Regions from separate parts of the Homo sapiens genome. Here regions 2, 3, 4, 5, 6 and 7 are each linked to region 1. Evidence: promoter capture Hi-C in 16 types of primary human blood cells and fetal thymus (Javierre and others, 2016). All regions are on one chromosome and are shown on one strand. The core of a region is centred on a gene start or on the middle of the fragment in contact, and the rest is flanking DNA. Distances in the headings are between cores, read along the strand shown. Region 1 holds the start of SH2D4A (SH2 domain containing 4A). Region 2 overlaps SLC18A1 (solute carrier family 18 member A1). Region 3 overlaps SLC18A1 (solute carrier family 18 member A1). Region 4 overlaps LOC105379312 (a long non-coding RNA gene). Region 5 overlaps LOC105379311 (a long non-coding RNA gene). Region 6 has its middle 60 kb from the start of LPL. Region 7 overlaps INTS10 (integrator complex subunit 10).

Region 1 (3,445 bases), core at 243-2,742:
CTAGGGTGAGATGGCAGGAATGTGGAATTCCAGTACCTTAATGTGATATGAACTGATCTGAGTGAATGTGTTTGAACACTCACCACATGCCAAGAGCTCTTCTAATCTCTTTGCATGTAGCATCTCATTTAACCCTCTTGACAACTTACCGAGGCAGACACTCTTTATCTAGAGGAGGAAAGTGAGGTACAGAGGTTAGTAGCACAGTGATAAAGCTGTTATAAGGAAGGACTTGCCAGGACCTGGAGAGAGACTGGGTGTGAGGAAGGTAGGCTGTCACAGTGTCCTGTGGGATTTTTCCTAACTGATAAACCACCCTGTATGGTTCAACTGATGCATCCATGCAGGGCTAGGATTCATTCTGACCTCGTCATAGCAGCTTTCCAGGGGCCAATCCCACTCCAGCCTAAAGCACCCCATATGCTATCATTTAAACTGCAGTAGGAACTAAGCCTTACACCAGAAATTCCTCCCTGATGGGATTCCTGGAATTGTTCCTAAATAGCTGGGTCTTATTTCCTGACAATGCCGCCTGCCCCGAGGCTTGATGTAACTCTGCACAGCTTCTGCAGTTTGGAGAGGCAGGGAAATGCCATTTTGTGTTTGAATCCAGCAGGTCAGGCTCCTAAAGAGGTCAGGTAGTCCGTGGAGAGGACTACTGGTGTTTACTGTTTATTACATCTCTCCCAATACACAAAATCTGGGGTTCACCAAAGCAGGCGGTTTTCTTCCACATGCTCCTCTAGGATGGAAAATGCCCTCCAGTGGAAATGCCTTTCCACTGTGCTTCTGCTCAATTTTCCTCCAAGATTTCCTCTAACTGTGGACTGCCAGCTCCTCCCTGACGTCTTCAGGCACCAAGCCAACCTGTTCTTGTTGCAATCCTCAAGACTCCTTTCAGCATCTTAACTTTTCCCCCAGTTTTCTTTCATTTTCTCCACCTGTCTGTGTTGACTGCGGTCTCCTTCCTTCCAGCCTTTTCCTTCCTTCATCTTGTCCTACAAAGCCACACGTGTACCGACAAGTGCCAAAGAGTTTGATCATTTACTTAATGTCAACAAAAGAAAAAAAAAAAAAGCTCCAGAGTCGCCTTGGCCTGCAGCACCCAAGCAGAGTGAACAAGTGGGGCCTGCGCACCCTCCTACCCTACACCTAGCAAGGAACCCCGAGCTCTGAAACGTGGAAAGGCCCAGATCTGCAGATTTAATCTAAGTCCTGCAGTCCCCAAGAGATCACAGACTGCAGATCCCTGTCTCATGAACTAAGAGAGGAGAGGACAAGCCTACCCCGGACTACCGCAGCTCGGGGACAGCGCGCGGGCCAGGCGGCCCGAGATGCGCAGGCCACGCAGCCTCGCCGACGAGTGGCCCTGGAGAGCCTCCAGGCGCCCGGGTGGGGCCGCGATTGCGCCCCGCCAGTCACCCCGGCATGTGGGCGCGGCGGGGCGGCGCGGGCGGGACGGCTACAAGAGCTGTTTTGCGTCCGGGCCGGAGTATTTGCTCAGCCCGCCTGCGCCGCTTGGGACGCCTCTGCCTTTCCCTCCCTCCCTTCCCCGACGGCTTCTGGCGGCCAAGTGGATGTGGCGGGTGATCGAGCCACCCTGCCCAGGGGCGCCCAGCACTGGTAGGTGCTGGGGGTGGGGCGAGGCTTTGGGGAGAGTGTGCGTGGGGTGGGAGTAGGGGGAAGGGAATTTCCTCGGAGGTTGCATGGGTGCATGGGAGGCGCAGGGGCCAGAGCGGGCGGGCGGAAGCCTCACCCCCGCCTCCACCCCTTCGCGGCGCCCGGGGCGGGCTCAGGTGCGGGGTTGGGCGGCGAGAGCGGCCGCGGCGGGTGTCCGGTGTCCGGTGTCCGGTGTCCGGTGTCTGGAGCCGCTGGCTAGGTGAGCGGCGGTCCCCGGGGCCTGGGGGCTTGCAGGGGGTGGCGGGGGAACTTCGAGGGAGAGGGTCTGCCGGGGCTGAGGACCTTCGGGGAAGTTCTGGAATCCGGCAGGGACACGCGGCGCGTGCTTCCACCCGCGGGGAGTGCAGGCCCCGGGAGGGTCCGGGCTGGCCTAGAGTTTCTAGACTCCTAGCAGGAGCACGTCCTCGACTTGCGCATGGAAATCTTCCAGGAGGGAAGTCCCGGGAAACGGTGGCAGCTGGCGCAGCACCCCCGCAGCACGTTCCCCGCGCACCGGCACCCAGGGGCGCCCCCACGTGGGGTCTGGGAGCGCGCGGAGGCCAGTGCAGCGCCGCCTCCCTCGGGCTGCAGCGGCGGGGCTGGCCCAGACCCAGACCGGGTGCCCAGTGCGCTCAGCCAAGCGGCGCCCCTGCCCGCTCCTGGACTCGGGGGTCACGCGGGCACCGGAAGGAGCTACAGTTTGTAGGTTTTCTGAGTTGTCTCTCCCTTCCCAGGGAGCTTAGAGAAGCAGCAAGCGTGGCACCTCCCCCTTTCAAACAGATGCTCCTCATCGCTCCAAAGGCTTTCGTTTGATTGCTGGTTTAATAGAAACAACGACTTGGGTACGATTATTTTAAAATAGTGAATAAATAAGTGGAAAGCATACAGGGGCATAGATTTGGCATATGAGTGGAATTCTCTATGTATACTAAATCTGTGTGTACAGTAATCTCAAATTTCTGAAGAATAGTATATATTTACAAACTGCTGTCATCTCTGGTAATTTGTTTCATCCTCAAAAACAGCCCTTTTGCTGGTAGATGAATAAGATAAAGTTTCAATAAGAAAACAAAGTTGGACCACAGAGCTGGCTGTTTTAAAAGAATTAGAATTCAAACTGTATTGTTAATGTTATAGTTACACTGTCCATACCACAATACTTTTATTTATTTTTTATTTTATTAGGTCGGTGCAAAAGTAATTGCGGTTTTTACGTAAAAAAAACCGCAGTTACTTTTTTTTTGGCCATGTAAAACACAATAACTTTTGCACCGACCTAATGTTTTTAATTTTTGAGACAGGGTCTCCTTCTGTCACCCAGGCTGTGGTGCAGTGGTGCGATCTCGGCTCACTGTAGCCTCAAACTCTCCAACTCAAGAGATCCCCCCACCTCAACCTCCCAAGTAGGTGGGACTATAGGTGCGGGCCACCACGCCTGGCTAATTTTTATACTTTATGTAGAGACGGAGTTTTGCCATGTTGCCCAAGCAGGTCTTGAACTCCTGAGCTCCAGCAATCCACCCATGTCCACCTCCCAAAGTGTTGGGATTACATGTAGAACCACTGTGCCCGCCTACTATTTTTATGATTTAGCCTGTATCTAAGGCCTTTTAAAATTGTATTTTGTTTAGGTCTCAGAGTTATTCAAAAGACAGTTGTATTGTAGAACAGTGTGAAGGTGTGAGAATCAGGCCAAATCTATGGTATCATGGAAAACAACGGATTCTCTGACCTTTTAGCAATTGGTGTTCAGAATAAATAGCAGGTGTGGGCTTGTTGCTTATCA
Region 2 (3,445 bases), core at 611-3,110, 860 kb after region 1:
AAAATCATTCCTCCTTTCATTCCTGGTGGTGAGGAATAAAAGAGATTATGCGTGTAACAGATTTAGCAGAGCATCTGGCAGCAGCCATGCTCTGGTGCTGTGTGCATGGGAACCGAGGCGAAGCAGTGGCCTCTAAATCGGGGAGGCTCACTTCCTCCAACAGGCTGGGCTTCCGGACCTTTCTCCGACGTTTATGTGTTTCCCAGCTTCTTAAGGAGAAGGAAATTTAACCTTTTCTCAGTGATATTTCTAAAGGAGTTGAAATAGGATGAGGCCAACAAGGGAAGGAAAATACTCGTCTTCTACACCTCGGGAACACCTGCTTCCTAGAGTCCCACCCTCCCGAACCCAGAGCTCCAGCTGGTGCCACTTACCCAGCAACCCCAAGGCCAGGCCCCCCAGAGCAGTTCCCATGGCTCGTCCTCTCTCATGGTCATCAGTGTAGACACTGGCCAGCATTCCAAGACCTGCGCAGAGAGTTACAGATGCAGCTGGCCCCCTGGGGGGCTTCTATCCGCCTCTCAGAGCCCTTGGTCCCACCCTGTTATCTCTTCAGTGACAATCTTAGCTAGAGTTTCAGTTTGAGGGGTTTTACAAAACTTAACCCGTAGTATTTTTCAAGTACTACCCTCCCTAGTCCCCCAAGCCCCCACATTGTCCACTCCTGTTCAGAATATTGTTGATAGTGCAAGCCCTCTGGAAGGATAACACAGAAAATCCATTGTCTGATTATACCATGTTTCATAACATTTTATCATTTCCTAGCACATTTCCCAAAATGAGGGGTTACAGAGCAGATCAGGGAAAGGAAAATCTAGGCACACAGAGACCATTCTATTTAACAGGGGTGCCCAGGGAAGAGCAGGAAAGCACTGCAGACCTGGAAGAAAGTGTGGGCTAGTGCTGTACGGCAGCTGGACCCTCTGGCCTTCATAGCTATGGGTAAAATGGCATAAAATGCCAACTTCATAAGATTGCATTAGATATTATATTCACCAGTACTTTGAAAACTGTGCTGGTGTTACCAGTAGTACTAACATGATTATTCCTATAAAGTACTAAGAGGGGGACAGAAAAAGGACCATAGAGTGGCACTAAATGAAAGCCTGCCCTTCTTCATAGCTTCACTGGAGGCTTGCTCTGACCTGAGCTAGCTGCATCTGAATATTAGCAGAGGAAGTTATGTCAGGCTCAGAGATCTATGGACCCTGTTAGAAACTCTGTAATTCCTTTCTTTTTTTTTTTTTTTTTTTGAGTTAGGGTCTAGCTCTGTCACCCAGGCTGAAGTGCAGAGGCACAATCATGGCTCACTGCAGCCTTGACCACCCAAGCTCAAGCCATCCTCCCACTTTAGCCTCCCAAGTAGCTGGGACCACAGGTGCACACCACCATGCCTGGCTAACTTATTCTCTCTTTTTTTTAATAGAAATAGGGCTCTCACTATGTTGCCCAGGCTGCCCGGGTTGGTCTCAGACTCCTAGAATCAAGCTATCCTCCTGCCTTGGCTTCCCAAAGTGCAGGGGTTACAGGTGTGAGCCACTGTGCCCAGCCCAATTCCCTTATTTCTGAATCACAATTTCTACCTATCCAGGTGACATTTTCCTTAATTTCTCCATGTAAATATAGGATCTGAGGTAGTAAGAGATGTGTGTGTGTGCATGCCTGCATGTGTGTGTGCATGATGAGTTGCCAGTGTTACCTGCAACAGATGAAAATGAAGATCCAATGCCTTGAAGGGTTCGGGCCACAAAGAGTAGAGTATAGGTCCCAGAAAAAGCAAACACTGGGCAGAGAGAATAGCAAGATAACTGCAGTTAGCAAATTGCCTTTGCTTCCCCAGCCGCCAGAGAACATGCCCGTGATACTGCAGATATGAGTCTTGATGCATATGTTTTTAATAAAGCATGATGACTGTTCCCTGTTTTTTGAGTTGTCTTTTCAATCTCCCACTCCTCAGTTTTGCTATTTAAATGGCAAGAAAACTGAGAAACCACAGAAGTATAAACCGAGTCACCACACAGCAGATGGAAGGCTGAGTCTGTACATCTCTTGCCAAGAACCCAACATTCTGTCCACTGAAATGAGGGATGTCCATGAAGCTCAGTGTCCTAGGCTGGAAACTGGTTCTTAGATCATACTCCTGGATCGTCCATGTGCAAAATCCAGATCTGGTCTTTACCATTGCTGGGTCCCACAGGATCATCTGGAGTACAGTGACAGTAAGTAGGTGCTTCGAGGATTATAGGAATTGGGTAGAAAATAATATCTTGTGATACAATCAGATCCTTTTTTATATCTTATATTGAACGATCTTTTAACCAGACAAAATCAGCAGGTATTAAATTATACTGAATGCGCAGCTCTGCTAGACTCTGTAGCAAATGCAAAATAAAAATAACATCTAGTTATTGTCCGTGAAGAGAGGCAGTGTGTTGAAGATGGACACCCAGGAAACTGAGATCCAACAGGAATATGTCATCCAAAACAATAAGAGAAATATGGCTCTGTCCTGCCAGGCTCCCAGACAGTCAGACCTAATGGTTATCTCCCCTTGCTCCCTGAACATCTCCATTATCCTATTCTTTTTTCAAGGTTCTGAGATCTCATATTGTTCAAACACACACGCTTTATGAACAATTTGTGCAGTTAACGCAATCCTCACAGGGTCCTGAGTCGACATACATCCTCAGTTTACGAAGACCATGGGATTAAGAGATTAAAGTAAAGACAGGCATAGGAAATTATAAGAGTATTGATAATTGGGGAAGTGATAAATGTCCATGAAATCTTCACAATTTTATGTTCAGAGATTGCAGTAAAGACAAGTGTGAGAAATTATAAAAGTATTAATTTGGGGAACTAATAAATGTCCATGAAATCTTCATGATTTATGTTCTTCTGTCATGGCTTCAGCAGGTCCTTCCATTCAGGGTCCCTGACTTCCCGCAACACAAAACTAAATCAGAGGGTGCTGGTGGTCAGGGTAGTTAAGTCCAGACATGTCTCACCTCCAATTCCAGAAAAATGTCTCCTAGGGTAAGAATAATCTCCTCGAAGTGTCTGAATCAGAAGAATTGTAATCCCTTTGCCCATTCATTACAGATGTCTTTGGTTGTGTTTTTAATCTTCTCCCATTACTTCCCGGCAGACATGATCACACCGAACTTCTCCTTGTCTCCCAAAGATGCACATTCTTGGTCTCTTCTTTCCTGGCCACCAGCATCTTTTCTCAGACTTTGTTATTTCCAGTCTTTTCTGTCTACTCTCCCAATGTCCTTTGAGAATAGAGTGACCCACTCATCTTGGTCTGCCCAGAACTTCCTTGTTTTTAAAACTGAAACTCAAAATACCCCACAAAAACAGGAAGTCTTACATCCTGGGAAGCCCCTCACTACAGTGTGGACATGGGTTGTTTGTCCCCACCAAATCTCATGTTGAAATTTGA
Region 3 (3,445 bases), core at 691-3,190, 830 kb after region 1:
CAAGCTCCGCCTCCCGGGTTCATGCCGTTCTCCTGCCTCAGCCTCCAGAGTAGCTGGAACTACAGGCGCCCATCACCACGCCAGGCTAATTTTTTGTATTTTTAGCAGAGACGGGGTTTCACCATGTTAGCCAGAATGGTCTCGATCTCCTGACCTCGTGATGCGCCCGCCTCAGCCTCCTAAAGTGCTGGGATTACAGGCGTGAGCCACCGCGCCCGGCCAACCACCGCACATCTTTTTTTTACCAATCTCCTCATTCCGTCCTCCCACTAGTTCTTCCAAGGCTGGCATTGCTAAGTACTCAAGAAACATGCATAGGACCCTCTGCATGTACATGCACCAGCCTCCCGGGGTACCTAGTATATCAACCCTTGTCAGGACAAGTATCTCATTTGCTTTTAACTGAATTTAACAGTGGTAGTGAAAGTTACAGCAGGAAGCCAAATGGAATCACCACCACTCCCTATCACACCTTCATGTCTTCTTTTGTTCCCTTGAGCAGCCTCTGTCGGTATCCCAAACCCATCAGGCCCTCAGGATGTTTGTGCTGCAGTAAGAGGAAAGTGCTTTATTAAAGAAAATCCTATGGTATGGATCTCTTCCCTGGGGTTTTTGTACTTTTAAAAACGTGACCTGCTGACCAACATGGATAAACCCCATCTCTACTAAAAATACAAAAAATTAGCCAGACATGGTGGTACATGCCTGTAATCCCAGCTACTTGGGATGCCAAGGCAGGAGAATCTCTTGAACCCGGGAGGCAGAGGTTGTGGTGAGCCGAGATCACACTATTACACTCCACCCTGGGCAACAAGAGTGAAACTCCATCAAAAAAAAAAAAAAAAAGTGACCTGGTAAGGATAATGTTGCACTAGAGTGAATGAGTGGATGAACGGATGTGCCAATGGAATTCTGCCCACTTATGAGGGAGTTAACTTGGTAACTCACATCTTGCTAGTAACTAGCAAGCTAAGAACAGTAACTACAGGATGTCTTTGATGGTCCTCTGCCCCCATTTCCCTTCTCTACTGAAGACCCTTCCTGATAGCCCCAGAAAGAGGGAAGTGGTTACTTAGAGAAGGGAAATTAAGGAAGTGCACAAAAGAAATATGAAGATGAAAGGGGATTGGGAAACATGGCAAAGCAGAGAGAGTATCAACAGAGCAATAGAGGGAGGAAATAACAGCCCAGGATGAAAGGGAATGAGAGAGATGATGGAAAGAAACAGAAGTGAATTTCTCTTTTAACAGTCGGTGCTCCTTACAAGCTTCTCTTCCTTTGCCGGGGGGCTCCGCAGGTAGTAGCAGAGTGGAGCATAGACGATGTTGATGACCCCAGTGATGACCATGAGCCAGGGAAAACCGATGGCCTTTACAATGGCACCACCGGTGGATGGACCTGGGAGGGATACATCAAAGTCATAAGTGTCTATGGAGCCTCCATATGGAGCATCCTCCACGTAGGACACTATGCTAGGGGCAGTGGGTGACCCAGAGGATGTCTCAGCGTCAAAGATCTCCAGAACCCTAGGAGGATAGCTTCCTGGCTGCACTTCCAGCTGGTAAAGAGTAGACAGGGGAAAGTGGGGCACCAGGTCCTGCCAACATACCTATAGCAAAGCCCATGCAAAAAGCCACATCAGCGATGGCGTAGACACTCCCATACACCGAGGTGTGGCGTAGATCCACCAGGTGCCCCATGATGGGCATCATAGAAGAATCCACCATGCCTGTGGCCAGAGCAAACAGGACACAGTCAGCCCCACCCACAGTTAGTACCACCCCGCCTCTCCTCCTCCATTTAGTCCATTTGCTTTGTCTGCTGTCTTCTGCCTCGGACTAACACCTGTTCCAGGTGGGAATTACGAGCTCATCTCTCCACAACCCTGCCAGCTGCCCTCCTGATCCTTCTGCCTCTGCACCTACCTCCTCTGATGAGAAAAGGGGGAGGAAAGGCATCAGACCCAAAGCCAACATGCAGGGGCTTATTGTTTTCTTTGAGGGCACTTCTTACCTATGGCAAGGCCAAGCCCTGCATTGGGGCCAATGAGACCAAAAATATTGTGAGCCAGAGGAACCTGCATGGGGAAGGAGGAAGAGTCATCAGGACTCCAGATGGGTCAGGTGGGAGCAAGGTTCAAAGAGTTTTCACATGAAATGCATTTATTCAGAGTGCACTATTGGCCACATACATCATCCTCCTGCACTCTCAGACTTTCTCATGGAAAAGAATCTATACCTCCATTTTAAGGATATGAAAACTTGACCAGCGCTGTTGTGTTTATTTATTGCTCTATCCAGAGTTACAGATCTAATGAGTGGCAAGATCAAGTTTGGACCTCAGACTTGGCTCCATTATGCTCTAACGAGGGTCTTCCTCTGTTCCATGGATACTTTCTCCCCTTCCTCTACCCCTCTTCACCTAAACATACACTCCTGGTCTCATTCTTCATGGAATAAAGTTGCCTCTGTTTTCCATTATGGACATCACTGAAAGGTTTCATTTAGACTTCTAACTTGGTAGCTGTTGGAAAAAGAAGATAGAGAAGAGGCCCCAACAACCAGTTAGCTGTAAGCTAGAGGGGGCAGGTGGTGTGGCTTGGGTCCCCTGTCAGGAAGCTTGTGAGACTCATTCCCATTGCCCTCCCAATCCCCCAACAAAAACCCCTTCTTCCCTCTTTTTCAGGTTCCTTACCTCCCTCTCTGGGTACCTGCCATTCAAACCTGCTACCCCAGGACACTCACCCCTTAAGGGTTTAGCATACCGTTTAGATGCTGCTGGCTGATAACAATTTTTAGGGTTCATGCCTCAAGAAATGTTTATAAATTATCAATAGTATTGGCTGAGATTCACTATGGGCTCACCATGTGCCAGACACTGTGGTTTATTTGGATTACCTTGACAACCCTGTGGACACCATCAGAACCCTCTCTACATAGATGAGGATGCTGAGCACACGGAGATGAAGTAACCTGCTCAAAGTCACATGCATAGAAAGTGGCAAAACCTGCCATGGAACCCGGATCCCATGCTCCTGCTCAGGACCTCCAGCTGGTCTTGAGCACAGTTTACAGTGCCTTGTAGCCCTGTTCTTCTCTCCCTCAGGCCTAGGAGGTTTGTGTGTTTCTCATCCCCACTGGGGAGAGGAGGAAATGAAGGCTTTGAGAACTTGAGGGGGATTCTTGGAAATGGAAAAGTCCTTCTTTCTTTCTTCTTCTATCAAGCCTCTGGTGCCAGAGACTGGGACATAGATGATGGTTCCCTGGGGATTTATGAGGCTCTGTCAGGGTGGGATGAGTAAATGAAGTCATAAAACGCACCATTTTGCCATCCCCAGAAATGGATACCAACATGTATCACTTCATATGCCCACATGTACAGCCTCAGACCTCCGGCTCCAGCTGCCCTACAGCCCTCTTCCTCTCCTTTCCCACTTCCCCTCAAA
Region 4 (3,445 bases), core at 243-2,742, 820 kb after region 1:
GCTGGAGTGCAACGGTACGATCTCGGCTCAATGCAACCTCTGCCTCCCAGGTTCAAGCGATTCTCCTGCCTCAGCCCCCCAAGTAGCTGGGAGTACCGGTGCCTGCCACCATGCCTGGCTAATTTTTGAGTATTTTTAGTAGAGACGGAGTTTCACCATGTCGGTCAGGCTGGTCTTGAACTTCTGACCTCGGGTGATCCACCTGCCTCAGCCTCCCAAAGTGTTGGGATTTCAGGTGTGAGCTACCGCACCCGGCCAAAAGAGTTTATTGACTGGGGCAGGACGATGGAAGTAAGAATGCAGGTCAGAGTCAAATAACAGCCTTACCTCTTTTACTTAGATATCCAGATGTTCTTTTTAGCAAATTAAATTTTCTAATTTGCTTTTACTCAGTACATTGATATGCTTAGTATAAATGCACTAACTGTGCTACTTTTAAACGCATCCAACACACATCATTTTAAAGTGTTTTATGAGAAATTCTGAACCTCCAGTAGACAACGACCCTTCTCCTACAAACTACAGTTATTCCAAGGGCATTTCACTCTGTCTTCCACATGCAAGAGCTTGTAGCAGGAAAAAAATAAAATGAGAAAGAGAGAGAAAGAAAAGAGAAAAGAGAGAGAAGGAAGGGAGGGAGGGAGGAAGGGAGAGGAGGGGAGGGGAGGAGAGGGGAGGGAGGAAGGGAGGGAAAAGAGGGATGGAGGGAGGGAGAGAGGGAGGGAGGGAAGGAAGGGAGGAAGTAAAATATGTATGTATATACTTTTATTTATGTCTATGTCTAGATGGGTCAGCACAAATATTGAATTCACACTATATGCTGTGGCCTGCAACAGATACTGAGGATGCCAGCATGGATATGAGACCCAGTAATTAGCCTGGAAGAGCAGAGAATGTACTGAGGGATGATTTGTAACAATACAACTGCTATGTTATGTTCTCCTGCTATAACAGAGGCAAGAGCTCAGTGTTCTGGGGATGCAGGCGAGGAATTGTGTGGCCTGGATAAATCTAGGAAGACTTCATGGAAGATGACGCATTTAAGCTAGATCTTGAAGAAAGATAGCAAGCTTTCTGTCTAGTGTAAGGGAAACTCATTTCAGTCTGCAGAAACAGTGTAAGCTGGGGTGTGGAGGATGAGAGATGAGGGCAGCTGGTCCAGGCAGACAACAGAACCAGTGAGAGCAGCGGTTGCTGCTACTGTATCACCCCCCTTGGCAGTAGTATGGCCCTGACTGCTGAGAGGCAGGCCAGCTCAGGGGCGTCTCGACTCCCCAAACCAGTGCTGAACATTCCCTGATCAACCTGGCTACCAAACCTTCTTCTGAAAATGAGAAGTAGCTTGTTAACTATCAGAGCTTTCTCACATAAGAATGGGCTTCAGGAGAGGTAGTGAGGTCCCTGTGGGAGGAGGTATGTAAGTAAAAGTGATAGGATAGGCCCTTTTTTCCAGGCTGTGGTAGAAGGGAGGTTTGGGACCAAAGAAGGTTGGCCTAACATACCCCGCTCAGTTTTCTTCCAGAGCTAAGAGGCCATGATTCCCTTTGAAAGTAGAATTTCCTGTTCTTCTATGAGGAATGGAAAAACATGTCTAGAGAGGTTAAGTGACTTGCCCCAGGCTACAAAGAAAGCTATCCGAATCATTGTCCAAACATTTCACTTGCTACAATCTGATCTCAAGTGGACTTTTAGACAGGTGAGAACAGATGCTGGCTCTTCTATCTCGGCAACCTCTTTACCAATTCTGCAAGCATCAGACAGCAGCTGGATCATACATACATATGCCTCACGTACGCAGCTTCAGCTCTGCCAAGCAGGGCCATGCCCAAATGTGAGCATAATATGTTTATGTGGACCTTGAGCAAGACACTGTGAGTTGAGTCCTGACTTCACAACTGCAAGCAGGAGGTCACAGAAGCTTTGCAGATAAAATGTTAATCTCATACCTTGGCCCATATCAACACATGCTAATCAGATGGGTCAGGCTGTGCCGTTTCCCTCTGCAAGCGGGACTTGTTGTGACTAATTGAGGGGTTTGTAGTGAACATGTCCCTTTACCTCCTGCAGTCCTGGCATCCTAAAGCAAACCTTGGATCTATCAACACCAGTGATACCGAGAAGCCGATATTCTCTTCACTCTGTTCTCCTTCCCAGCAGCCATCACGCCTCTGGGCTACAATCCTGCCTCCAGAAGTCCCAGCTCAATTCACAAAGATGTTCTGGGAAGGAAGTCAATCTTCCCAAAGTTCTTGAGAGCCTGGGACATGCCATTTGCGCAGAACTCTAGAGTATGCAACGTGGCTTCACACACATCACTCCATTCGGACCCAGGGCTCTGGTACAGGTGTCATCCAAACCTTCTACTGCACACACGTAGCAAAGCGAGGCCCAGGGGTGATGCCCTCTTGAAGTCACAGAGAGAATAAGTGGAGCAGCAAGAAATCGCAGCTCAGTTTTCTGACCCTGAAGCCTGGGTTCTCTTCTGCATATACCAGATGGCCTGGTGAGCAAGGGTTGGGTATTCCTTGGCAAGGGGTGAGCAGGGCTGGGATCCAGGGTGAGTTGAAGTGGGCTGAGGACTTTCCAGGACTCATAGCTCCAGCCGGAATGTGAACAGGCCACACGCACCGAAATCAGTCTTTAGAGCTCGCTGTGGCCACAAGTGGGTGCTGGGCTGAGGTGGTGGCTTGTGGTTGTGAGTGTTGAAGATCATAGTTCAACGCAGGCCGGGTCCCATACAGGCAGGAGGACCAGGCACTAACTGGCCTGCTCTGCCGTCGATCTGGTACCTGTGTGTCTGCCTGACAGACACAGCTCAGAGGCCACCAGGGCTGAGCCGTGGCCCCAGGGCCACCCTCTGTGAGGCTGTCAGGAAGACAGAAAGAGCCACAGGGCAGCTACAGGGACAATGAGTGGCTTGCTGGTGAGGGACAGTAGGAGGCTGAAACCAAGGGAATGGACAAGAGCTTACAACCCCAAAAACTGATGGTGCCTTGTAGCAGACAGACACTGAGAACCCATGGCTGGGGCTCTGAAAGGGGAGGAAGCCTGCCAGGATTACCACTGGGTCCCACATGGGCCTCCCTGCTCCCCATTCATCCTGTGTGACAGCCATGCCAGTCTTTCAGGCCTTTTTTCCTTTTGTTTTGATGCCTTAGGAGACAGTTCATAGACCCTGGCCCAAAAGCTATCTGCTTCTAGAATCCAGCCCATCCCACCCTCCCAGCCTTGCTGCCTCCTCCTGCACCAGCTCCTCAGTCACTGCCCCAATTCGTGGCCTTTGATTACTGCGGCCCCTCGCTCTGAATGACTCCACCTGTCATCTAGTCATTTGATTCCCTCCCAACCTTGAGGACCCACTTTCTGGGACCCCAGTTGTCTATAAAGACCTCCCTGCCCCCTCACTCTGATCATCACTCTCTGTAATCCCTCTAGGGTTTGCCTG
Region 5 (3,445 bases), core at 544-3,043, 790 kb after region 1:
GCATGGAGGTGCATAGTCCCTCTACTGGAGAGACTGAAGGGCAAAGAGACTACCATCAAGGAAACAATTTAAGCGGCCATGCAGGCCCTGTGGGCTCTGAACATGCCCCCACGTCGGTCATTCCAGTTAGCATCTCCCCTCCCAGCATCTGTGGTGCAAAAGCAGAAAAGAGCCAGTGAAGCCCGGGAGGTCCTGAGTTGGCTCCCAAACTCACTTCCTCCAGAGGAATTCTTCCTTAGCGGTTTATACACTTCCTGTTTATTCACATGCAAACAAACACATAGGAAAACCTCAGTCCCTCCATTCAGAACATGTTCTGAGGAATTCAGCCTGCAAAGCTTTCTTCAAAAATGAAAGCTTCTTTGTGTAAATGCTCAGAATTCATAAGCAACTAAATGAGGGACAGCGGGAACGAGGGAGGGTGGGAACAGGAGAGAAACCACATGGGGCTGACTTTAGAGTAGCCATAATTCAAGAGAACATGGGCGGCTTTTCTGCTCTTGAGAGAAATAAACAGCATTTCTTCCCAAGGAGTCACATCCCTGAAAGCATTCTATCTCCCCACTCCTCAAAGTGATCATGGCTCCTGGGCCTCTAACGCAACACTCGGCTTCATGTATGCAAATGGTAGGCACTCAATAAACAAAGTGAGTGACTACATAGTAAAGGAAAAATAAATGCATCACTATTTTGTTATAGAGAAAGTAACTTAACAATGAGTTGATTACAACTAACATTTACTTTTGCACTTAATATGGGCAAACCCACTGAGCATATTCTCTCATTGACGCCTCCCAAGAGTGAGAAATGAGTCAATAAATGTTGTTTTGATTAACTCATATTGTTAAATTACTTTAAAATTGTCAGTGAAATAGGTGTCATTATACATATTGAAGCTGTGACTCCTGTTATTCATGACAATTTCCACCCTCTGTCTTATTTGATCCCGGCCTTGAAAGATAAGTATATAAGATCCCATTTTGTAGCCATGAGAGTTGAGGCTCAGAGAATGAGACCTGTCTGAGGCCATATGTCCCCATGCTGGGCCTAGAGCCCAATGTTCCCTGTAAAATGCCATGATCTGTGTCAGTTATCAATTTATTGCCTCTCTGCTCCAAATTCACCCTTCATTGTTCTGGGTCAACGGAGCTGGCCCTGTATTTCCCCTTTGCTAGCTGGCACAATGTGGACCCTTGTTAGCAGAAGATGTTGGAAGAACACTGCCACCAGAAGGGGTTTCTCTCCTCCAGGTTCCAGAGCACTCTCCCCTCTGGACTCTTGCCATACACAGTCTATTCAGTATCTGAGCCCAGCAGTCAGTGACCACATCTGCACCCAGCTCCTGCAGGACCTCAGCACCTCCTCAGGAATCTTTGCAGTGAGTCCTGAGACCTATCACCTACCTGTGGACAGTTCTCCCTGGCACCTCAGAAGGAAGATTAACAGCAAGTTCTGCCACCATGGCACCTCTGCAACTTGGTGGCTGAGCACTGAGCCATGGCTGGGCTCTCAAAGAGGTCTGGGTCTCAGCCTTAGGGATAGCAACTGCTCTCTATAGCTGCAAATCCTACATTATTTGGGATTTTCTCCCCTCCTTACTGACCAATTCCCCACTACTTCAATACCTTTTTCCAATGAATAATTCTTTATAGTGAACTCTCCACATTCAAATATCTGTATGGTTTTTATCTCCTGGCTGGTCCCTGACTGATACATGTTGCTTCCTTTCTGAGCATCTTATTGCAGGGATTGAGGCCTGAAAATTACCTGGCATCCCACAAACACGAACAAGAGATTCAAGAAGCTGGGACCTGAGGAAAAATTGCTTTTATCTTATCTTCTTGGTTTCTCATCTGGGTTTCATGGGATGCAGGAGGAAGGGATCAACCACAAAGCACTTTTTGGAAGTGGCACCTATGAAATACACACGTCTTGTTTAATGATCTAAAAACATTTCAGTCGTTTTAAATTTTCATACTTATGTTTCAACTATAACCCTAGGTACAGTAGCCAGCATCCACTTCTCCATCCCATTGGATTGATTGATTTTAATCAGTCTTAAAAGCTCAGTGTAATTCCTCCCCCAGGAATGAGTACACTCAATTATCAGCTCTCATGACAGTAAGGCCACCTCCCATGCACACAGCAGTTCATGTGTGTTAAGTCATTCAACCATCAAAGCTCTGGGACATCCAGAGCAAGTTTTACTGTCCTCCCCTTTAGGCAAGCAAACCTGACCCTGGGAGAGTTAAATGAGTCTCACAAAGGCAAGTGATAAACAGCCAAAGTGTGTGCTAAGACTAAAATCCAAGTCCTCTAAATTCATTATTCTTTTAGCCATGGCCTCCTCCCCCACATCTCTCTGTTTCCTGGACAAAGGCTTTATCTTCTGCTAAAGAATTTCAAAGATCAGCAAACAGGAGTGTGTGGGAGGTTATTTTGGGGGCGACGGTGGGCAGTGTTCAGGGCTCTTCTGGCACCCTCATCTCTGCTGAGTAGGCGCCATCTGATGCACTGAACTGGCTTCAAGCCAGCCCCAGACAAAAAGGCAGGAACCGAAGGTAGGCGAGGGCTGATGTGGGGAGGGAGGGACAGTGGAAACGGTGTTGCACAATTAGACGGGGACTCATGAGGCTGGCATTTCCCTAGTGGGGAGCCAAGGCTGCACAGAGGGAGAAGGGGGTGGGGTGGGGTGAACAGTGGCTCTGTCCATACTGTTTGGACACTAGCAAGGCTGTATGAGAAAAGTCACAATTCATTAAGATTTGGGTGGGGACACAGTCAAACCAAATCTGGGTCAAGCCGAGTCTGTACATGAGGGAAAGTAAGTACAGATGTGAACATTTCCAAGTGGAATATGTGTGTAACCAGAGCACCCCTAGGCCTCAAGAGCTTATTACAACCAGGATGGCAACCATGGAGATGACAAAACAGTGGCTAGAATTTATTAGGCACGTACTGTGGGCCAAGGACTGCTCTAAGCATTTTATATTCACCATTCTACTTAACCTCAAAATAGCCACATAAAGGAGATGTGAATGAAAAATGCTATATTTAACTTAGTACCCAAAAATAATAGATACTAGCTTCTCCCTTTGGTAACTCTTCATTTTCCCATACCTCACTGAAGACCTTCTCACCTTCTTCCACCCAACTCCCAGTTATTTCTGGAACCCTGGAAATCTCATGAGTATGTATGTGTGAGGTTTTTAAATTTTTTTTAACTTTTTCAAGCTTTTCATTTTGAAATAATTTCAGACTTCCATAAAAATTGCAAAAATGTCACAAAGAATTCTAATGTACTTTCACCAACTCCCCAAATGTTAACATTTTATATAACCACAGTACAATGGTCACAATGAAGTTAACACAGGTGTAAATAACAGTTATAGAATCTACTAATGTCACTTTTTTCTTGTCCAGGATCCAATCCAGAATCACATAT
Region 6 (3,445 bases), core at 416-2,915, 570 kb after region 1:
CATATTTTATATTCTTCCTTTTTTCAATATTGACTGCATTTATCTCACTTACTCTTCCCAAGAAGCCTGAGGGATTTTATTACCCTGATTTTATAGACAGAAACTGGGTCTCAGCCAGTTTCAAAATATTTCTCAAGGTCACATAGCCAGTCATGGCAGACACTGGATGACAATCCAGTTCTGTCTGATGCCAGATGCCTATTCCTTCCACTTTGCTGGCTTCTAAAATTGAGAAAATTAAGTACGTAACCTGAGAAGAGGCAGGTTTGCATGGCCCTACATAGAAATACACATTAAGTGGTTCAGTTAGAGAAAATAATGGCATGCAATGCACACTGGCTTTATAGGAAATATAGGGCATAGCACTGATCACATACCATAATCCTGATTTTTCTCTAAGACCTCCTTCTTCTAGAAAATTCAACGAATCTCAGAGAACATAAACACAGCCCTGTAAGAGTTTCTATGGTTCCACTTAAGCAAAACTGTTCATTAAACATCAAGCTCTTGTTTTTAGAATAAAAATACTCAAGAGTAAATATTTCCCCAAAGGGATCACTTTCTAGACAATTTTACAGGCTATTCTTTGTGAAGGAAATTTAGAAAGCATAAACCACACAAAAGCCAAAGTAAAATCTTTGGAATTTCATTCACTTCAACTAATAGCCTGAGAGCTTAGTTAGCAGGACACTTAATTTTGAAAAAGAACTTCTCTAAAACAGAAAGTAGATTGCATTGAAAAATGGGTAGTTGCTTTCAAAGTTGTTTCTGCTTAGTAAACTTTTATTTTCTAGAGGAGACTTATTATCCTATCAAGAATCAAAGTTAATTTTGACAAGACTAGGATTTTCTCTGAACTCCAACTAAATCAAAGGAAGAAAGAATGAAAGGAAGGGAGGGGAGAAGGAGGGATGAAACAAAGAAAGGAAGGTAGGCTGGGCGCTGTGGCTTATGCCTGTAATCCCAGCACTCTGGGAGGCCCAGGCGGGTGGATCACGAGGTCAGGAGATCGAGACCATCCTGGCTAACACAGTGAAACCCCATCTCTACTAAAAATACAAAAAATTAGCCAGGTGTGGTGGCTGGCTCCTGTAGTCCAAGCTACTTGGGAGGCTGAGGCAGGAGAATGGCGTGAACCTGGGTGGTGGAGCTTACAGTGAGCCAAGATCGGGCCACCGCACTCCAGCCCGGGTGACAGAGTGAGACTCCATCTCAAAAAAAAAGGAAGAAAGAAAGGTAGGAAGAAGAAAAGAAGGAAAGAAGAAAGAAAAAGAGGTAAAGAGAGATGGAAGGAGGGAAGGACAATTGAAGAGGAGATTCTTGTTTATTAATAAAGCACAATAACGGATGACTTACTTTAAAATTTGTGATGGCTTTAATATGTCATCATTACAGTTAACCCTAGAGCCACACTGGTTTGAACCATGTGGTTCCACCTATAGGTGAATTTTCTTCCACTTTTGCCACACCTGAGACAGCAAGATCAACCCCTCCTCTTCCTCCTCCTCCTCAGCCTACTCCAGTGATGGTGAAGGCCTTTATGATGATCCACTTTCACTTAACAAATAGTGAATACTTTTTCTCTTCCTTAAGATTTTCTTAATAACGTTTTCTTTTCTCTAGCTCACTTACTGGAAGAATACAGTATATAATACGTGTAACATACAGAACATGTTATTGGTAAGGCTTCTGGTCAACAGTAGGCTGTTAGTATTTAAGTTTTGGGGGAGTCAAAAGTTATACATGGATTTTTGACTAGGTGGGGGATTGGTACCCCTAACCTGCATGTTGTTCAAGGGCCAACTGTGTTTTTGTTTTGGAAGTAGGTGTCTACACACACAAGTAAATGATAGAAATGTGAAGTGCTTTCAAATGCCAAATATTCTGAGAGAAGAGAACGCCTAGATTCATTACCCTCATTTGTCTTCACAGTGAAGGAGAATGTGAACGCTATATTTACAGTGTTGGCACCATTTGAGCTTCGACTGTAAGTTTCGTGGTGAATATTCTAGGGCCTCAAGGCTCAGGATCTGGAATGCTCACATGAAGAGCAGAGCAGGAACCAACACAGGGAGCACACGGCTTTGCCTCTAATTCTTCTGCTAAGCAGACACTTCTTGAGTATCATCTTTTCTTCTCTGGGGTTCCTGGCACTGAGGCAAATGCATTGCAGTTCGCTCTTTAGTGAAAATGTCCTGCTGCCTTCAAGGTTCTTCCCTGTTTCTCATCTCAGCTCTGCAGCTTCTCTCCTCCACCCCTACCCTTGCCAACATGCCAAAGATGCTTCTGTCTTTCCCAAATAAGCATCTTTTACATGTATTTGCCAAGAGGATAAAGACAGGTATTAAATTTCTCAGTAGTTGCGATGACCTGAATGTTTGTGTCCCCATAGAATTTAAATGCTGAAATGCTAACCCCCTCAAGGTATGATATTAGGAGGTGGGGCCTTTGAAAGGTGCTTAGGTCATGAGGGTGTAGCCCTCATGAATGGGATCAGCACCGTTATAAAAGGAACCCCCAGAGAGCTCACTCATCCTCTTTCTGCCACATGAGAATACAGAGAGAAGCTGGTCACCTACAAGCCATGAAGCGGACCCTCATCAGACACCGAATCTGCTGGCATCTTGATCTTGATCTTAGACTCCAGAACTGTGATAAATAGATGCTTGTTGTGTAAGCCATCAAGTTATGCTATTGGGTTACAGCAGCCAATACTAAGACAGGAATGTTCAGTTGAAAAGAACCTCACCATAAGAGAGCCATTCATAACGAGGAAGAGACATTGCCAATGGGAAGTTAGGAGTAAATGGAGGCTGTGGGAAGGTGTCAGGAGATTCAACAGAGTCCATTTTTTAATGGTTCCAGACTTGTAATATCAACTGGAAGAAAGTTTGGGGTCAGGATCTTTCAATATCCTTGATTCCAATCATTAGAGGACTTCCTACTGACCCCACCCATGCAGCCAGACTTTTTTACTCCTGCCACTTGTCACTTTTTCTCTCAGTTGCTTTTCTCCTCTTTTGAGGCTCTTCATATTTTTATTCCACCTCTCTCTTCAGTTCTAGGGTCCTCTCTCTTTCAGTATTTTCCAGACCCGTCTATCACAAGGAACAACACAGTGACCTGGAAAGTCTTGCTCGGGAAATCAAGAGGCCTGGCCTCTGGCTCTCAGCACTGTTACCCCTCACTAGGGATGAGTGCTGGGGAAACACAGTTCTCTGGGCCTCCCTTTTGTGGATGTTCTCTCTGTCCCTTTAGCACTAACATTGTGGAGTTCAGCACTTGGTTTATTTTATAACTACCATTTCCTTTCCTCTCAAGATTCCTAGCTAATTCAAATAATCAGTTAGTTGAAATAATCAAAAACATTGCTACTCAAGGAGAGGCCCCTGTGCGATTCATATGAGCATCACCGGGAAGCTTGTTAGAAATTCCAGTCCCAGCC
Region 7 (3,445 bases), core at 538-3,037, 530 kb after region 1:
ACTAATAGTTCCTCTTCTTCCATCTGTCAAAAGAATGCCTCCTGTAGCCTCTGGGGACAGTGGCTGTGCCCTGCAATCACTTGTTAGGGCACCCTGCCATAGCTGTCTTACCTACCAATGAGTACCCACCAGAGATGCTGCACAGCACAGTAGCTGCTTCTGACATTAGGTAATGCTGTATTTCACACTGCTTATTAGGGAAAGACCTTTGAATTAAAGGTTAGTTATCAATTTGGGTGTTTTTACTTCATTGTTTATCTTATTACATTATTTCTGAATTGCAAGGAATATAAATGATATTCTTGTTCAGGTGCTCAGAGCAATAGTTTTTATTTTTATTTTGTTTTTTTTTAGAGTTGGGGTCTTGCTGTGTCACCCAGGCTGGAGTGTAGTGGTGTGATCATAGCTCACTGCAGTCTTAAACTCCTGGGCTCAAGAGACCCTCCTACCTCAGCCTTCTGAGTAGCTAGGACCACAGGTGTGCACTACCATACCAGGCCAAAGTAATAGTTTTTAACCATGGTTTGGGACAGATATCTTTTGAGAATCTAATGAAAGTTACATAATTTTTCACTAGAAAAATGCATACATGAATGTCATCGACATATTGCATAAAATTTGGGTGACTCACAGAAGCTTCCTCCTCTGATGCATCTATAAACCCTTGCACCCCAGTTATGAAGAAGTAATCACTTGATTTTTATGAATTTTATGTTCTGTAACACCAAAGAATCCTCCCTACTTTCACCTCCTCTTTCATTTCTTATTAAGAAAACAAAAAAATTTTGCTCTTGTGACCATGTAGTATTAATTATTATCGATATGGAAAACATGTTGTCCTCATGCTCTTTAGCCTGGCACATCTCATGCCAAGAGTTATCTGTGCGAGGGAGTTTAGTGGGTATAAGAATCAGGTTTTGGCATCAGACAGATCTGGGTTCAAATATGGAGTCTGCAGTTAGTGGGGTAGCAATGGGCAAGTTACTCAACTGCCAAGACCCCATTTCCTTATCAGAGAGAACTGGCACCTTTTTTAGTGGGATGGCAATGGGCAAGTTACTCAACTGCCGAGACCCCATTTCCTCATCAGAGAAAACTAGCACCTTTTTTTACATGTGGTTAACCTGAATCTGGCCTGCAGATATTGATATGCTGGAGGAATTTGCCTACTTGAGAACTCAGGAAGGTGGGAAAATTCATCTGGAATTACTACCCAATCAAGGAATGCTGATCAAGTAAGCATGTTCTCTTTTGCTCTTCCATGCTGAGTGCTCACCTTTTGTGTCTTTGTATGAAGTATTTGTAAATGTCTATACCTATCAAAAATTTAATACAAAGGACTTTAAACCTGGTCTCTGTTATGATAGTTTGATTCTGGGTACCTTTTGAAAAACTTGCATTTCCTTAACTACATTTCTTAAAACACTTTGCTTAAATTGGGGTATTTTTGTCACATTTGCAACTTTTTCACTAGACAAAAGTCTCATTCATGATATCTTTTACTTTCAAAAATTTATAGGGTGAGTCTATAAGTTTCTGATTAGTCACAGAGTGCCTTTAATTAAGAACAGTTGTGTGGCCAGGCATGGTGGCTCACGCCTGTAATCTCAACACTTTGGGAGGCCAAGGAGGACAGATCACCTAAGGCCAGGAATTCAGGACCAGCCTGGCCAACATGGTGAAACCCCGTCTCTACTAAAAATACAAAAAAAAAAAAAAAATTATGTGGGCATGATAGTGGGCACCTGTAATCCCAGCTACTTGGGAGGCTGAGGCAGGAGAACCGCTTGAACCCAGGAGGTGGAGGTTGCAGTGAGCCGAGGTCGCGCCATTACACTCCAGCCTGGGCAACAAGAGTGAAACTCCATCTCAAAAAAAAAAACAAACAAACAAAACAGCTGTGCTTAATTAAAATTGTGCTGGGTTAGAAAAATTCTTTAGGAAAAACTACAGACTTTTTATTTATAAACTACCTATGAAGCCCTCCTATGCAGTCCTCATGACTTACATAACAACGAAGTATTAATAGCCAGGTATAGTGCCTCTAAGAACACACCTGTCCCAAGAAATGATGGTGGGAGTGGTTGGTCTCCACCATGCTCCCCTGAACTCACAAGATGTTACTAAAATTCCGGGTTGGCCCAGATGAAAATGCCAAATTAGTGACCATTTATGATTTTTAAATAGCTCATAAATCTTGCTTCTCTCCTTCAATCCTCATTGTAGTTTGGGTAATATATCCTCTCTGCTGTAAATGCCACGTGTAGTTTTATTTTCATACTTCCTCCTTTGCTTCCTGCACATTCAGTGTGTCTGTAAGTCAGTGTTAGAGTTTCTGCAAGAGACTGAATCCTGAATGAGAAGAAAGTACTGCTAAAACTAAAAACATTTTTCTTTTTCCCTCAGTTGTGGAATAAACTAGTTTTCAGTGGTTGAAAGCAAAAATCCACATCTTGTTCTATCTTGATAGTCTTAGAAGTGCCTAGGGAAAGAAGTAAGAAATGTTCATTTTAGATTTCTGTAACCTCAGTAGTTTGCTGGTAGCAAACATTTCTTTTTGTGTCTAGCAAGAATAGGGTCTTGTGGACTCCATTCTCAAGAATGGAAAGATTAAGTGGTTTTTTCTCCTTCATCTTATAAGTGTTATTAAATTATAAACTTTTAAAATAAAAGAACAGTGCTCTTTTTAAAAATACACGAGACCTTTCTGCATTGGTTTGCTTAAGCAGGATGGACAAGGACTGGCATCTTCCAATCCCCATTTACTTTTCTAAGATCGTGAATCGAAACTTTGGGAAGAATAACTATGTTGTTCAAAATATTCTTAACAGTGTTTGGGGATAAAGATTACCTTTGGATACGGAAGCCCAGGTAACCCCTTTTGTATTGTGATTTGTTTTCTAGACTTTGAAACTGGATATACAAATACACCCTGAATCAAGCTTTTTAGTTAATTCCCATCAGCAGTCACTATACGAGTTAATATAGAGACAGCCATAGTGGAACCGAAGTCTGTGTACATAGGATTAAACCTGCAGATGATTATCACTTTACCTAGATAATGCCTAACTGTTAGTGCAGGTGTGAGAGATGGATTGTCAAAAAATCAACAGTTGAACCTCAGACTTCATTGTACTGAACCTTTCTTCTTCTACCAGTTTTTACTGAGCTGAAGAGTGACATAAGTCCAAGTGGACAAACCCTAGGATGAGGAATGAGAGCAAGGGGAGTGTTGGGTACCAGCTAGTATCACAGGGAAGAGTGTTTGGAGTTGTTTGTGTAAAGGATACCCATCATGCACTTCTAACTAGTGAGGGAGAACTCCAGGGTCTCCCACCTTGATCAATACAACCCTTAATTTCTTCTAACTTTCTATAGAAGACAAGCCTCTTAGGAAGGCTGCAGTTTCATCAGTTTGGAAGCAGGAATAGGGATTATTCCTTAG

Evidence for each region. The method cuts DNA at HindIII sites, captures the fragments that hold promoters and counts their contacts. A CHiCAGO score of 5 or more calls a contact.
Region 2: a contact is called between a fragment that was not itself captured here and the fragment with the promoter of SH2D4A in region 1, in 5 of 17 cell types (naive CD4 T cells, activated CD4 T cells, total B cells and 2 more). The highest score is 5.9, in naive CD4 T cells.
Region 3: a fragment that was not itself captured here is called in contact with the fragment with the promoter of SH2D4A in region 1 in 5 of 17 cell types (naive B cells, naive CD8 T cells, non-activated CD4 T cells and 2 more); the score reaches 5.8 in naive B cells.
Region 4: a contact is called between a fragment that was not itself captured here and the fragment with the promoter of SH2D4A in region 1, in 2 of 17 cell types (naive CD8 T cells and activated CD4 T cells). The highest score is 6.7, in naive CD8 T cells.
Region 5: a fragment that was not itself captured here is called in contact with the fragment with the promoter of SH2D4A in region 1 in 4 of 17 cell types (total CD4 T cells, naive CD8 T cells, non-activated CD4 T cells and 1 more); the score reaches 7.5 in total CD4 T cells.
Region 6: a fragment that was not itself captured here is called in contact with the fragment with the promoter of SH2D4A in region 1 in 4 of 17 cell types (non-activated CD4 T cells, activated CD4 T cells, naive CD4 T cells and 1 more); the score reaches 6.8 in non-activated CD4 T cells.
Region 7: a fragment that was not itself captured here is called in contact with the fragment with the promoter of SH2D4A in region 1 in 3 of 17 cell types (non-activated CD4 T cells, activated CD4 T cells and naive CD4 T cells); the score reaches 6.0 in non-activated CD4 T cells.

What each region holds. Positions count from the first base shown.
Region 1 is chr8:19,312,201-19,315,645 of GRCh38, forward strand. SH2D4A (SH2 domain containing 4A) reads left to right here and starts at 1,493. Exons shown (of 10, transcript NM_022071.4): 1 at 1,493-1,623. The HindIII fragment of the contact is 8,347 bases long and covers 1-3,445 here.
Region 2 is chr8:20,172,662-20,176,106 of GRCh38, forward strand. SLC18A1 (solute carrier family 18 member A1) reads right to left here. Exons shown (of 16, transcript NM_003053.4): 5 at 1,700-1,783; 6 at 375-467. Among named protein-coding and RNA genes, the nearest start is that of SLC18A1, 8.8 kb to the right of the region's middle. The HindIII fragment of the contact is 4,634 bases long and covers 1-3,445 here.
Region 3 is chr8:20,145,994-20,149,438 of GRCh38, forward strand. SLC18A1 (solute carrier family 18 member A1) reads right to left here. Exons shown (of 16, transcript NM_003053.4): 13 at 2,014-2,077; 14 at 1,610-1,729; 15 at 1,265-1,398. Among named protein-coding and RNA genes, the nearest start is that of SLC18A1, 35 kb to the right of the region's middle. The HindIII fragment of the contact is 1,351 bases long and covers 1,266-2,616 here.
Region 4 is chr8:20,127,417-20,130,861 of GRCh38, forward strand. LOC105379312 (a long non-coding RNA gene) reads left to right here. Exons shown (of 3, transcript XR_949563.2): 2 at 786-2,503. Among named protein-coding and RNA genes, the nearest start is that of SLC18A1, 54 kb to the right of the region's middle. The HindIII fragment of the contact is 848 bases long and covers 1,069-1,916 here.
Region 5 is chr8:20,103,277-20,106,721 of GRCh38, forward strand. The region is part of intron 1 of LOC105379311 (a long non-coding RNA gene); the gene reads left to right. Among named protein-coding and RNA genes, the nearest start is that of SLC18A1, 78 kb to the right of the region's middle. RefSeq lists an enhancer at 750-1,251. The HindIII fragment of the contact is 2,877 bases long and covers 356-3,232 here.
Region 6 is chr8:19,877,370-19,880,814 of GRCh38, forward strand. No RefSeq gene overlaps it. Among named protein-coding and RNA genes, the nearest start is that of LPL, 60 kb to the right of the region's middle. The HindIII fragment of the contact is 3,506 bases long and covers 1-3,418 here.
Region 7 is chr8:19,844,563-19,848,007 of GRCh38, forward strand. INTS10 (integrator complex subunit 10) reads left to right here. Exons shown (of 17, transcript NM_018142.4): 16 at 1,142-1,235. Among named protein-coding and RNA genes, the nearest start is that of INTS10, 29 kb to the left of the region's middle. The HindIII fragment of the contact is 2,306 bases long and covers 635-2,940 here.